Regions from separate parts of the Homo sapiens genome. Here region 1 is linked to region 2. The links are contacts of gene promoters, found by promoter capture Hi-C in human tissues and cell types (Jung and others, 2019). All regions are on one chromosome and are shown on one strand. Each heading gives the region's core, a stretch centred on a gene start or on the middle of the fragment in contact. The rest is flanking DNA. Distances are from core to core; before and after follow the strand shown.

Region 1 (4,985 bases), core at 1,759-4,258, 64 kb after region 2:
GGCTTTGCTTCATAAGGAGAATAATAGCTTAAGATCTTGATATTTTGCTTTGGAAAGATTTAAAAATTGAAATTAATTTAATTTATTTTGTGTTTCGTGTTCAGAAATACAAACTCCTAGTCTCTTTCCTGTTGTTAATCACCATGTGTCTCAGTAATTTTCAGTGATATAGTTACAGAACTAACACATTAACATAGAGCATGCCCTCTTACTTCAGTCTTTTTAACATGTAGTTTTGGAATTGTTTTAAAATTATATGGCTTTTGTAGCTGCTGTATACATTTCTTTTTAGAGTCAGCTAAGTTTGCCTTAGGGCAAAAATGTGTGCTCATAATTTTTAATACTTGCTTGATAATATCTGGGTAAACAACTAAATATGACATAGTCTAATGAAGAATGTGGATTTTTCTTAACCAAATAGTCTTTGTTATAGCTTATGCCCTATGCAGTAGCTGATTGTGGGACCCATTTTCTGTAAATTAAAATGGAAATATCTTTTATCTTTTCTGTCACAGGATTGATCTGAAGTTAAACAAAAAACCACGAGCTGTAAGTATCAGCCGGACCACTTCAGAGAGGCTGGCAATTTTGTAGATGATTAGAAAAATGTATTTGTCTTCAGAGCTTGAGTGTTCCTAACCTGGAGTCATAACTCTTGATTTAAAGTCTGGGGTGTCCATCTGGATATACTTCAACTTTTAGGTGGTTTTTTTGTTTTTTTTTTTTTTTGTTTTTTGTTTTTTTTTTTTGAGAGACAGTTTCTTGCTCTTTCACCTAGGCTAGAGTGCAGTATCATCACAGTCACAGTTCACTGTGGCCTTGACCTCCTGTGCTTGGCCTCCCGAGTAGCTGGGAATACAGGTACATGCCACCTTGCCTGGCTAATTTTTGTATTTTTTGTAGATATGGGGTTTCACCATGATGTCCAGTCTGGAACTCCTGGACTTAAGCAATCCTCCTACCCCAGCCTCCCAAAGTGTTGGGATTACAGGTGTGAGCCAACGTGCCTGGCCTATGGTTTTTGTATTTTAAGGAGAGAAAGAGGTCACATACTTTATTTATTTATTTATTTATTTATTTATTTATTTATTTATTTATTTTTTGAGACGGAGTCTTGCTCTGTTGCCCAGGCTGGAGTGCAGTGGTGCAATCTTGGCTCACTGCAACCTCCGCCTCCCAGGTTCAAGTGATTCTCCTGCTTCAGCCTCCTGAGTAGCTGGGATTACAGTGCGTGCCACCATGCCCAGCTAGTTTTTGTATTTTAGTAGAGACAGGGTTTCACCATGTTGGTCATGCTGGTCTCAAACTCCTGACCTCGTGATCCACCCGCCTCAGCCTCCCAAAGTGCTGGGATTACAGGCGTGAGCCACCGCACCCGGCCGGTCACATACATTTTTAATGATGAAAAATTCCCTTTAATTAAATAATAAATTGTTAATACTAGCTCTTTTTTTTTTTGGACTGGTGAATTCAGGTGCTCTAATAAGAGCAAAATTGATGTTTCAATCCCTTTATGGACTCAGAAGGCAGACCATTTTCAGATGTGAAATATTGTACATTATATTTGGAATAGAATCTTTTTTTAAATTTTTTTTTTGTGTGTGTGACAGGGTCTGGCTCTGTCACCCAGGCTAGAGTGCAATGGTGTGATCTTGGCTCACTGCAACCTCTGCCTCCCAGGCTCAAGCCGTCCTCCCACCTCAGACTCCTGGGTAGCTGAGACCACAGGCATGAGCCACCACACCTGGCTAATTTTTGTGTTTTTTGTAGAGACATGGTCTTAATTTGTTACCCAGGCTGGTCTCGAGCTCCTGACCTCAAGTGATCTGCCCGCCTGGGCCTCCCTAAGTGCTGGGATTATAGGCCTGAGCCACCACGCCTGGCCTGAAATACAATCTTTTTTTTTTTTTTTTTTTTTGAAACAGAGTTTCACTCTTGTCACCCAGGCTGGAGTGCAATGGCGCGATCTTGGCTCACTGCAACCTCCGCCTTCCAGGTTCAAGCGATTCTCCCACCTCAGCCTCCTGAGTAGCTGGAATTACAGGTGCCCACCACCATGTCTGGCCAATGTTTTGTATTTTTAGTAGAGACGGGGTTTCACTATGCTGGCCAGGCTGGTCTCGAACTCCTGACCTCGTGATCTCCCTGCCTCGGCTTCCCAAAGTGCTGGGATTACAGGTGTGAGCCACTGTGCCTGGCCTGAAATATAATCTTTAGCTATAGAGCAGTCCCCTAGTAGAGTTGTTTATGAGATTTTTTTTTTCCTTTAGGGTCAAACAACTGTTCTGCCGAGAGTAAGTTGGGACTTTTGTTTTTCTTTCTTTAGGACTATTAGAAGACACATTAGTGCAGAAGCTTCCAGGCTGTAGAGCCCTGCTTCCCTTCTCTGACCTCACAAAGATAAACATCCTTCACCTGAGTTCGTGGCCATCCACCTCTGCTCTCCCAGACCCAGTGCCTGTGACTTTGAGTAGTTTGTTCTAAATGTGGTGACAAACAAGTCATTTCTGTAAGACATTGGGTCTTACTTTATGTCATTTTTAGTAACAGAACTGCAGGAAGATGAAGACAATGTTGTAATCCCAGCAAGTTGCTAACTGTGCGTTTCTCCCTTCTTAGAATGAATGTCTCCCCCAAAACTGGCTGGCACCAGCTTCATCTGTGATACCCTTCAAGAAATGTTCTCTGGTTTTGTTTTATGCTGAAAGTAGAACACAAGTCACATTTCAGATGGAGGCTGTAAATATCTGGCATTTTCTTATATTGTTTTATGTTTTCTTGTTTTTCTCTTGTTGTTTTTATCTTATTTTCTTTGGGGTTTTTTTGTAATGCCTTTGTACAGCTCATACTTTCCTGCTGACATATCTGATCATCTCTTTCATGCAGTTGCCAATATTCATAACTGAAAATAATCTGGTTTATCATAAGTAAAATGGGAAACTTGCCTCTGTTTTTTGCAAGGGGAGGTAAAGAGTGTTTAGTAATTACCTATCTTAAATCTTTCTGAGTTGGTAGTAGATTCATGTTCAAGGAACAGGAAAAATGGAAAAACATAAGTTTAAATCAGTTCTTTTTAAATAACTTTTTATTCTTTTGTATAAATAAAATTTCACAGGCTTCAAATTCTCATGCTTTACTTTTAAACCCGAGATTGTTTTTTCACTTATTTATTCATATCATGCCTTATGGAAATTTCTTTTTCTGTATTTTCTCTCTTTGCTGGTATTCACCTGATTAAATATTGCTCTAAAAATCACCATGGCATATGGAAAGTCTCAAAATTATACCAAAAGTGATAACTTATGTCGTTCTTAAGTGGAGTGAAAGGATAGCATCAGTGAGAGCCAGTGTTGCCCACCAGGTCTCCCTTTCTTGGAGGGCTTGTTGGGGCTGAGGAATCTGCTAGTAATCGTTACCTGCCTCTAGTGCTGTGGTGAACTTGCGACAGGGTCTGGCTGCACATTGGAATCACCTGAGAAGCTTTAAAATACTCATGCCTGGATCCCATCCCTAGAGACTGGGGTACAGCCTAGTTATTGGGAATTTCTTTAAAAGAGTTCCTGGGATTCTGATAAGAAGCCAGGTTGAGAACCACTACATTAGAAGACTGAATGGTTTAATTTACATCCTATGTTATGATTGGTCTAAGGGATAAGATTTGGGGTCTAACCTTTCCTTTCACTCTAGTTAGTCATAGTCCTTGACTTATGCCTATATCTTTGTAAGAAATAGTATGTTTCATTTGTGATAGTATTGGTAGGGCTGAATATGGATGGCATCTACTGTAAAACAAGTCTACCTTGTCAGATGTGCAAAAGCTTTCACTCTTGTTCTCAAATAAACTTTTGTGGGTTTTTTTTTTTTTTTTTTTTTGACTCTGGCTATTTAGATCTTTGACTGTGTCTTTGGTAGCAGAACTCCAGTGTCAGGATTTTTAAGGAAATAGTTTCTTATATTTAGATTATTCCTTAAAAAAAAAAATCCTAGAAGCATTCTGTATTTTTTGTCTGTTGGTCTCCTTTGCTGGGAGGGAGGAGTGGGATGCCTACAGTTTCCTTCCTTTTGGGGAAAGCACACAGCAGACCTTAAAATATTTTTGACTCTTGGGCTGGGTGCGGTGGCTCACACCTGTAATCCCAGCACTTTGGGAGGCCGAAGCGGGCGGATCACGAGGTCAGGAGATCGAGACCATCCTGGCGAACACAGTGAAACCCCATCTCTACTAAAAATGCAAAAAATTAGCTGAGCGTGGTGGCGGGTGCCGGTAGTCCCAGCTACTCGGGAGGCTGAGGCAGGAGAATGGCATGAACCTGGGAGGCGGAGCTTACAGTGAGCTGAGATAGTGCCACTGCACTCCAGCCTGGGCGACAGAGCGAGACTCCATCTCAAAAAAAAAAAATATTTTTGACTCTTAACAGTTTGAGATTGCTAGAGATGGAATAGTACTGCTCTGTTGCGCCACTGCACTCCAGCAGCCTGGGCGACAGAGCGAGACTCTGTCAAAAAAAAAAAAAAAAAGAAAGAATAGTACTGCTCTTAAAAAGATTATTTACGTATTTATGAAACTGCAGTGGGATGCCTAGTTTCCTTCCCTCTGAGGAAAGCACACAGCAGACCTTAAAATATTTTTGACTCTCATAGTTTGACATTGCTGGAGACAGAATAGTACTGCTCTTAAAAAGATTATTTAAGTATTTATATATTTTATTTATTTATTTATTTATTTATTTATTTATTGACAGGATCTTGCTCTGTCACCCAGGCTGGAGTGCAGCGGCCTGATCAAAGCTCAGTGCAGCCTCGAACTTCTGGGGTCAAGCCATCTTCCTGCTTCAGCCTTACTAGTACCTGGGACTATAGGTGCATGCCACCATTCCCAGCTAATTTAAAACATTTTTATTTTGTAATGATGGCTTCTTGCTATGTTGCCCAGGCTGGCCTCAAGCAGTCCTCCTGGCCTCAAGCAGTCCTTCTGCCTTGGCCTC
Region 2 (5,135 bases), core at 1,492-3,991:
CCTTCAGCTGGGAAGGGGAAGGGGGCAGTTAGCTGTTGCTGGGTGGGTCAGGCAGGGGGAGAAGAGGGGATTCCAGCATGAGATGGGCTCCAGCTCCAAGGTGCTCAGGCTTGGATCTGTGCTGAAGGTGAAGGGAAGGGAGCAGTAGGGTGTGTAGTGCCCACCCCTCACCTGGCTCACTCACCAAAACACTGTGAGTAGAGTTCCCTGCGGACAGGGCAGATGCCTGTTTCCCTGGCCTGCCGCTGCTGCAGCTTTAAGTCTAACTGCTCCTGGAGGTGCACCACGTCCATCCTGGTGCTAGGGGTGCTGGACACCTGCTGGATCCATAGCTGCGTGTCTTCCACCCACTCCCTGTGGCAGACACAGCGAGGCTGAGCAAAACCCGTTGACTTGAAGGTCCCTAGCACATGAGCAGAGGGCCCTTTGAGCCCTCTGCCTGAGTAGTGGTGAGGGGCAGCTTTGCCACCAACCCACCAGAATCCTCCATCCCTTGGGGTGTGAGGCTCCAAAGCCACACCCACTATGCTGCCTCCACAGGGATCTTGGGAATGGGTAGGTGGTAGACAATTTCCACCTTGGCAACGGGCCTCTGTGAAATCATTCCCCACTGTTCCAGATCTTACCCTCCTAACATGCTGAAGACCGATTTATGGTTGTTGCTTGATGTGAACAGTAGGAACTACCCACCAACTTACGGGGTGGGAAACACAGGACATCATGAACCTTGTGCGAGCCAGAAAGAGGCAGATGTGTGTATCGGGGTGGAGAGGTTCATGAAGGTGTGTGCCTGCGTAGGCCCCCATTTCCCTTTTCCTCATAGCCTTACCAACTGTGCTGTCAACTTATTACATAAAAATAGATGAAAAGGCATGTCCTTTTATCAATGTGGCTGCAGAAGAAAAAAGCAAGAAAAGGAGATCATGTTGGGCAGGGGTGCTCTGCTATAGCAAATTCTCAAGGAAGGCCTGGAAGAAATGAAAGGAACCAGGAGAATATCAAGGGGAGAACATCTTTGGCAGTGAAAACACCAGCTGTCAGGGCCCTGTGGTAGGAGAGTGAATGAGGCATTTCAGAAATAGCAAGTGAGGTCCCTGTGGATTCAGCACAGTGAACAAGAAACAGAATAACAGGAGATAAGGTCAGGGATACATCGTAGGCCAGATCATGCCACATCTTCCAGGCCATTGTAAGGATTTTTGATTTTAGTCTGAGATGGGAAGCCACAAAAGAGTTTCTGGCAGAGACTGGCATGATCTGACTTATGACTTAGGGGCTGTATGGAGGATAGATTCTAGGAGCAGAGTGGAAGCAGTGTTTTCAGATAGGAGGCCACTGCAGCAGTGCGAGTGGCCACCAGTGACTAGGAGCAAGATGGTGGAAGCAGAGGTGGTGAAAAGTGGTTGGATTTGGGAAAGAATTTGAAGGTGGAGCCAAAAGAATGTGACGAAGGATAGGACACATGCTGTGAGAGTGATCAAAAGGAATGAAAGGTGGTTTGAGTCCCTAGTAAAAAGGAGAATACGGGGGATGAGCAGATTGGGGAAGGAAGAAATTGTGATTTAGTTTGAATATATTGAGTTTGAGATGTCTATTAGATATCTTCATGAAGATAATGAGGAAGCAGAAGACTATATGGTCCTGGAGTTTAGTGGAGAAGACAGGGCTGGAAATACACATTTGGGAGCCATCAGCACATAGGTGGTATCTAAAGCCATGAGATTGGGTGACAGCATGCAGGAAATGAGGGTAGATTGAGAAGAGGTCTCCCACCACCCTGCCAGGATCCAGCCATATGTAAGTTCTAGGAGCTCTGTGATACTGGGAGGAAACCCCAGCCAGGAACAGAGGCAGAGTGCCTCCCCCCACACTCCCAAAATCCACGATGTAAAAGCTTAGGCCTTCTCCCAGCCACTGCTCCTACTTTCTTACCTTGGGGGTAGTATGGCATTCAAGATTTCTTCTGCCTGCTTTGTAGGATCTGGGACACAGGGAGTTGAGGGGAGCTTGGTCTTGGGTGGCTGTGGGGCTGAACCTGAAGGTCCAGGCTGCTGGGGGCTGACTTTCAGTAGCCGAGCCTGAGATGAAGGCACAGGTGAGGGCAGGAAATTGTTCAGGAGCTCAGCTCCACACATCCCCAACCTGTATATTGCTCCAGGTCTTCTGCACAGCCCTCCCCTCTTCCTAGCCTACTTTGGGTCGGTCTTCTCAGCAGAAATTATGTCACAGAGCTGAAGGAGGCCATGAAGTCTGGCCCCAACTCAATGCTTGAACAGGTGTTTCTGGCGCATGTGCTTTCACACCTCTGGTGATGGGGAAATCACTACCTAGTCATCTGTTCTTGGACCCGCGTACCATTAAGAAGAGTGAGCCCCATCCATCTCCCTGTGACCTCCTTCCCCATCCTAAATCTGCCCTCTGGGGTCACACCCAACATCTGGGCTTCCTATACAATCCTCTCACCCTCCTTCTCTGACTTCCCAATTCCCTTTACTCCCAGTCGCTGCAATCCCCGTCCCTTGAGATTCCTGACCCTCCATGCGGGAATGTGTCTTTCCCTATCGGAGTTTCGAGGCTCCTTTGTCTCCCGAGCCCCCGTCTTTACCTTGGGGCTCCGTTTCTCCGTGTTCCGGCTCACCAGCACTGGGGTGTCGTACTTGAGCAAAGAGTCTGCGGGCGGAATCATGGCGGAGGCGAGAGTAGCAACCCAGCAGCTGCCCTGTCCAGTGTGGGCCTTGTTTGCCGTCACCATGGAAACCGCCCCCTCACTCCCGCCCCCGCGCTTCTTGGCCTGGGCGGAGCTTCGAAGTGGGGCGGGGCCAACAGCCGGCAAGTTTCATTCTGTGCCTCCTGGGCAGAAACCTCTTGTGCCTGACTTCTTAGGCCTTCTGCTCACCGGTTCGTCCCTGTACTCTTGGAGGCGAGGAAAACGGCAGTTCGAGTCCCTATGCTCCGTCTAGCTAGCGATTTGAAGTGGGCAGATCACCTTTGCCATGCTCCAATTTTGTCACCTGAAAAACAGGAGTCATCTCCTGACTTCTCATGAAGGGTTAAGGGACAATTCCCAAAGGAAGTCATCTGGAGTTCCTAGGTTTTTTGAAGGTTTTTTTTGTTGTTGTAGTTGTTCCCAAAATGTGTTCATTGAGATTGTTTCCCACTCATCTTGATTCAGAGTGCTTTTAGTGCTGCTTCCTCCTGAAGGAACATCCTTCTGTAAGCCTTACTTTTCCTCCTGTAGGCTGGCAGAGGACAGTGGAGCAGCCAACACACAAAACTGCCGTTTGTGCATGGCTAAAGACTGTGGTGATTTTATAGCATCCTGGGCATTTCACATCCATGAAGTAGGAATTGGGGCTCTGCACCAGGCGTTTCTTCTTGTGTTTCCTCTTCTCCTCTTCTGGGGAGGGATGAAGGAGATCCTTTGCGAGAGGCATGTTCTCGTGGGTAGGTCGTCACCGCAAGAAAGGGCTTGTTTTGATTTTTAAATTGAGACGGAGTCTCTCTCTGTTGCCCAGGCTGAAGTGCAGTGGCGTGATCTCGGCTCACTGCAACCTCCGCCTCCCGGGTTCAAACGATTCTCCTGCTTCAGCCTTCTGAGTAGCTGGGACTACAGGCGCGTGCCCCCATGCCCGGCTAAATTTTGTATTTTTAGTAGAGACGGGGTTTCACCACGTTGGCCAGGCTGGTCTCGAACTCCTGACCTCGTGGTCCGCCTGCCTCGGCCTCCCAAAGTGCTGGGATTACAGGCGTGAGCCACCGCGCCCAGCCTGAAGTATTTTTCTAATTAAATGGAGAAATGACAAAGTAGGAGCCAATGGGAAACCTCCCCTTTGCCCCCTGAAGATTCGCTCAAAAATCAATTCACAAAAGGCAGATTAATTGGAGAAAAGGCATACAAATGTATTTAAAATGTATACACGGGGAGAATCACAGTATGATTACCCACCCCGAAAAGGGTTCAGAAGCTTATATACCCTCCTGGTAAAACAGGTTTGTGAGGGTGGGAGAAGGAGGAATTCTGTTCAGGGATTACTAGGCAGAATGAATGAATAAGGGAACAGAGATAAATTTGTAAATAGTTTTTTGTGTTTTTTTTTTTGTTTTGGTTTGGTTTTTTTGAAGACAGGGTCTCACTCTGTAGCCCTGGCTGGAGTGCAGTGGTGCCATCACGGCTCACTGCAGCCTCCAACTCCTGGGCTCAAGCGATCCTCCTGTCTCTGCTGGGACCACAGGCACGAGCCACTAGCCCCTGCCAAATTTAATTTTTTTGTAGAGACAGTCTTGCTATGTTAGGCAGTTTGGTCTCAAACTCCTGGCTTCAAGCGATTTTCCTGCCTTGGCCTCCCAAAGCGCCGGAATTACAGGCTGCAGCCACCGTGCTCGGCTGTAAATAGCTACTTTTGACAGTATAAGGGTCTCTGGTCAGGTGTGATTACATTCTTGGGTGGAGAAGAAAGAAACAATTATTCCTTTTGGTAGTCTGGATCTTAGGCAGATAAAGACCTGTGCTTTGGGAGAGATGATGGGCACTGGAAAGGAACATTGAGGCTTCTTCAGTTCAGCTTGTCAGTGAGCCGTATTTTGGGGTTTTGGTTTCTGAGCCCCAACAGCATTGCAGAAAGTTCAGGAAATAGAAGAGGAAAAGCTAATGATTTGAAAAGCTAATGATTTGCCCATGGGTTATCATCTCTGATTGCATTTCCATTTCTTCCTCCCTTCTATTTCCAAATGTAAATGTAATTATAGTTTGCACACAATTTTGTATCCTGCTTTATCGTTAACAAGTCAGGGTTTTTAAAGTTTGTAAATGGTTTACTAATGGCCACATAACACCCATTAATTTGGCTAACTTCCCTACTGCTGGTATTTACATTGTTTCCACGTTTTGTAATTACTAATAATGTGGCAACAAACAGCCTTGAGAGGTTTGCTTTTTCCCAGTTTTTGTTGTTGTTTGTTTTTGAGACATCTCGCTCTGTTGCCCAGGCTGGAGTGCAGTGGTGAGATCCCTGCTCACTGCAACCTGCGCCTCCAGTTCAAGTGATTCATTTGCCTCAGCCTCCCGAGTAACTGGGATTGCAGGTGCGCGCCACCACACCCGGCTAATTTTTGTATTTTTAGTAGAGACGGGGTTT

Evidence for each region. The method cuts DNA at HindIII sites, captures the fragments that hold promoters and counts their contacts. A contact is called where the count stands out against the background at its distance.
Region 1: a fragment that was not itself captured here is called in contact with the fragment with the promoter of DNALI1 in region 2 in 1 of the 25 tissues and cell types used here (spleen).

The regions. Positions count from the first base shown.
Region 1 is chr1:37,491,449-37,496,433 of GRCh38, reverse strand. It overlaps MEAF6 (MYST/Esa1 associated factor 6), which reads left to right. Exons shown (of 7, transcript NM_001270875.3): 6 at 516-549; 7 at 2,327-4,985. The coding sequence ends at 2,335. Among named protein-coding and RNA genes, the nearest start is that of MIR5581, 7.1 kb to the left of the region's middle. The HindIII fragment of the contact is 5,415 bases long and covers 301-4,985 here.
Region 2 is chr1:37,554,546-37,559,680 of GRCh38, reverse strand. It overlaps DNALI1 (dynein axonemal light intermediate chain 1), which reads right to left and starts at 2,741. Exons shown (of 6, transcript NM_003462.5): 1 at 2,606-2,741; 2 at 1,933-2,078; 3 at 185-354. The coding sequence starts at 2,686. It also overlaps the pseudogene RPS27P9. RefSeq lists enhancers at 2,659-2,953, 3,164-4,134. The HindIII fragment of the contact is 4,106 bases long and covers 1-2,930 here.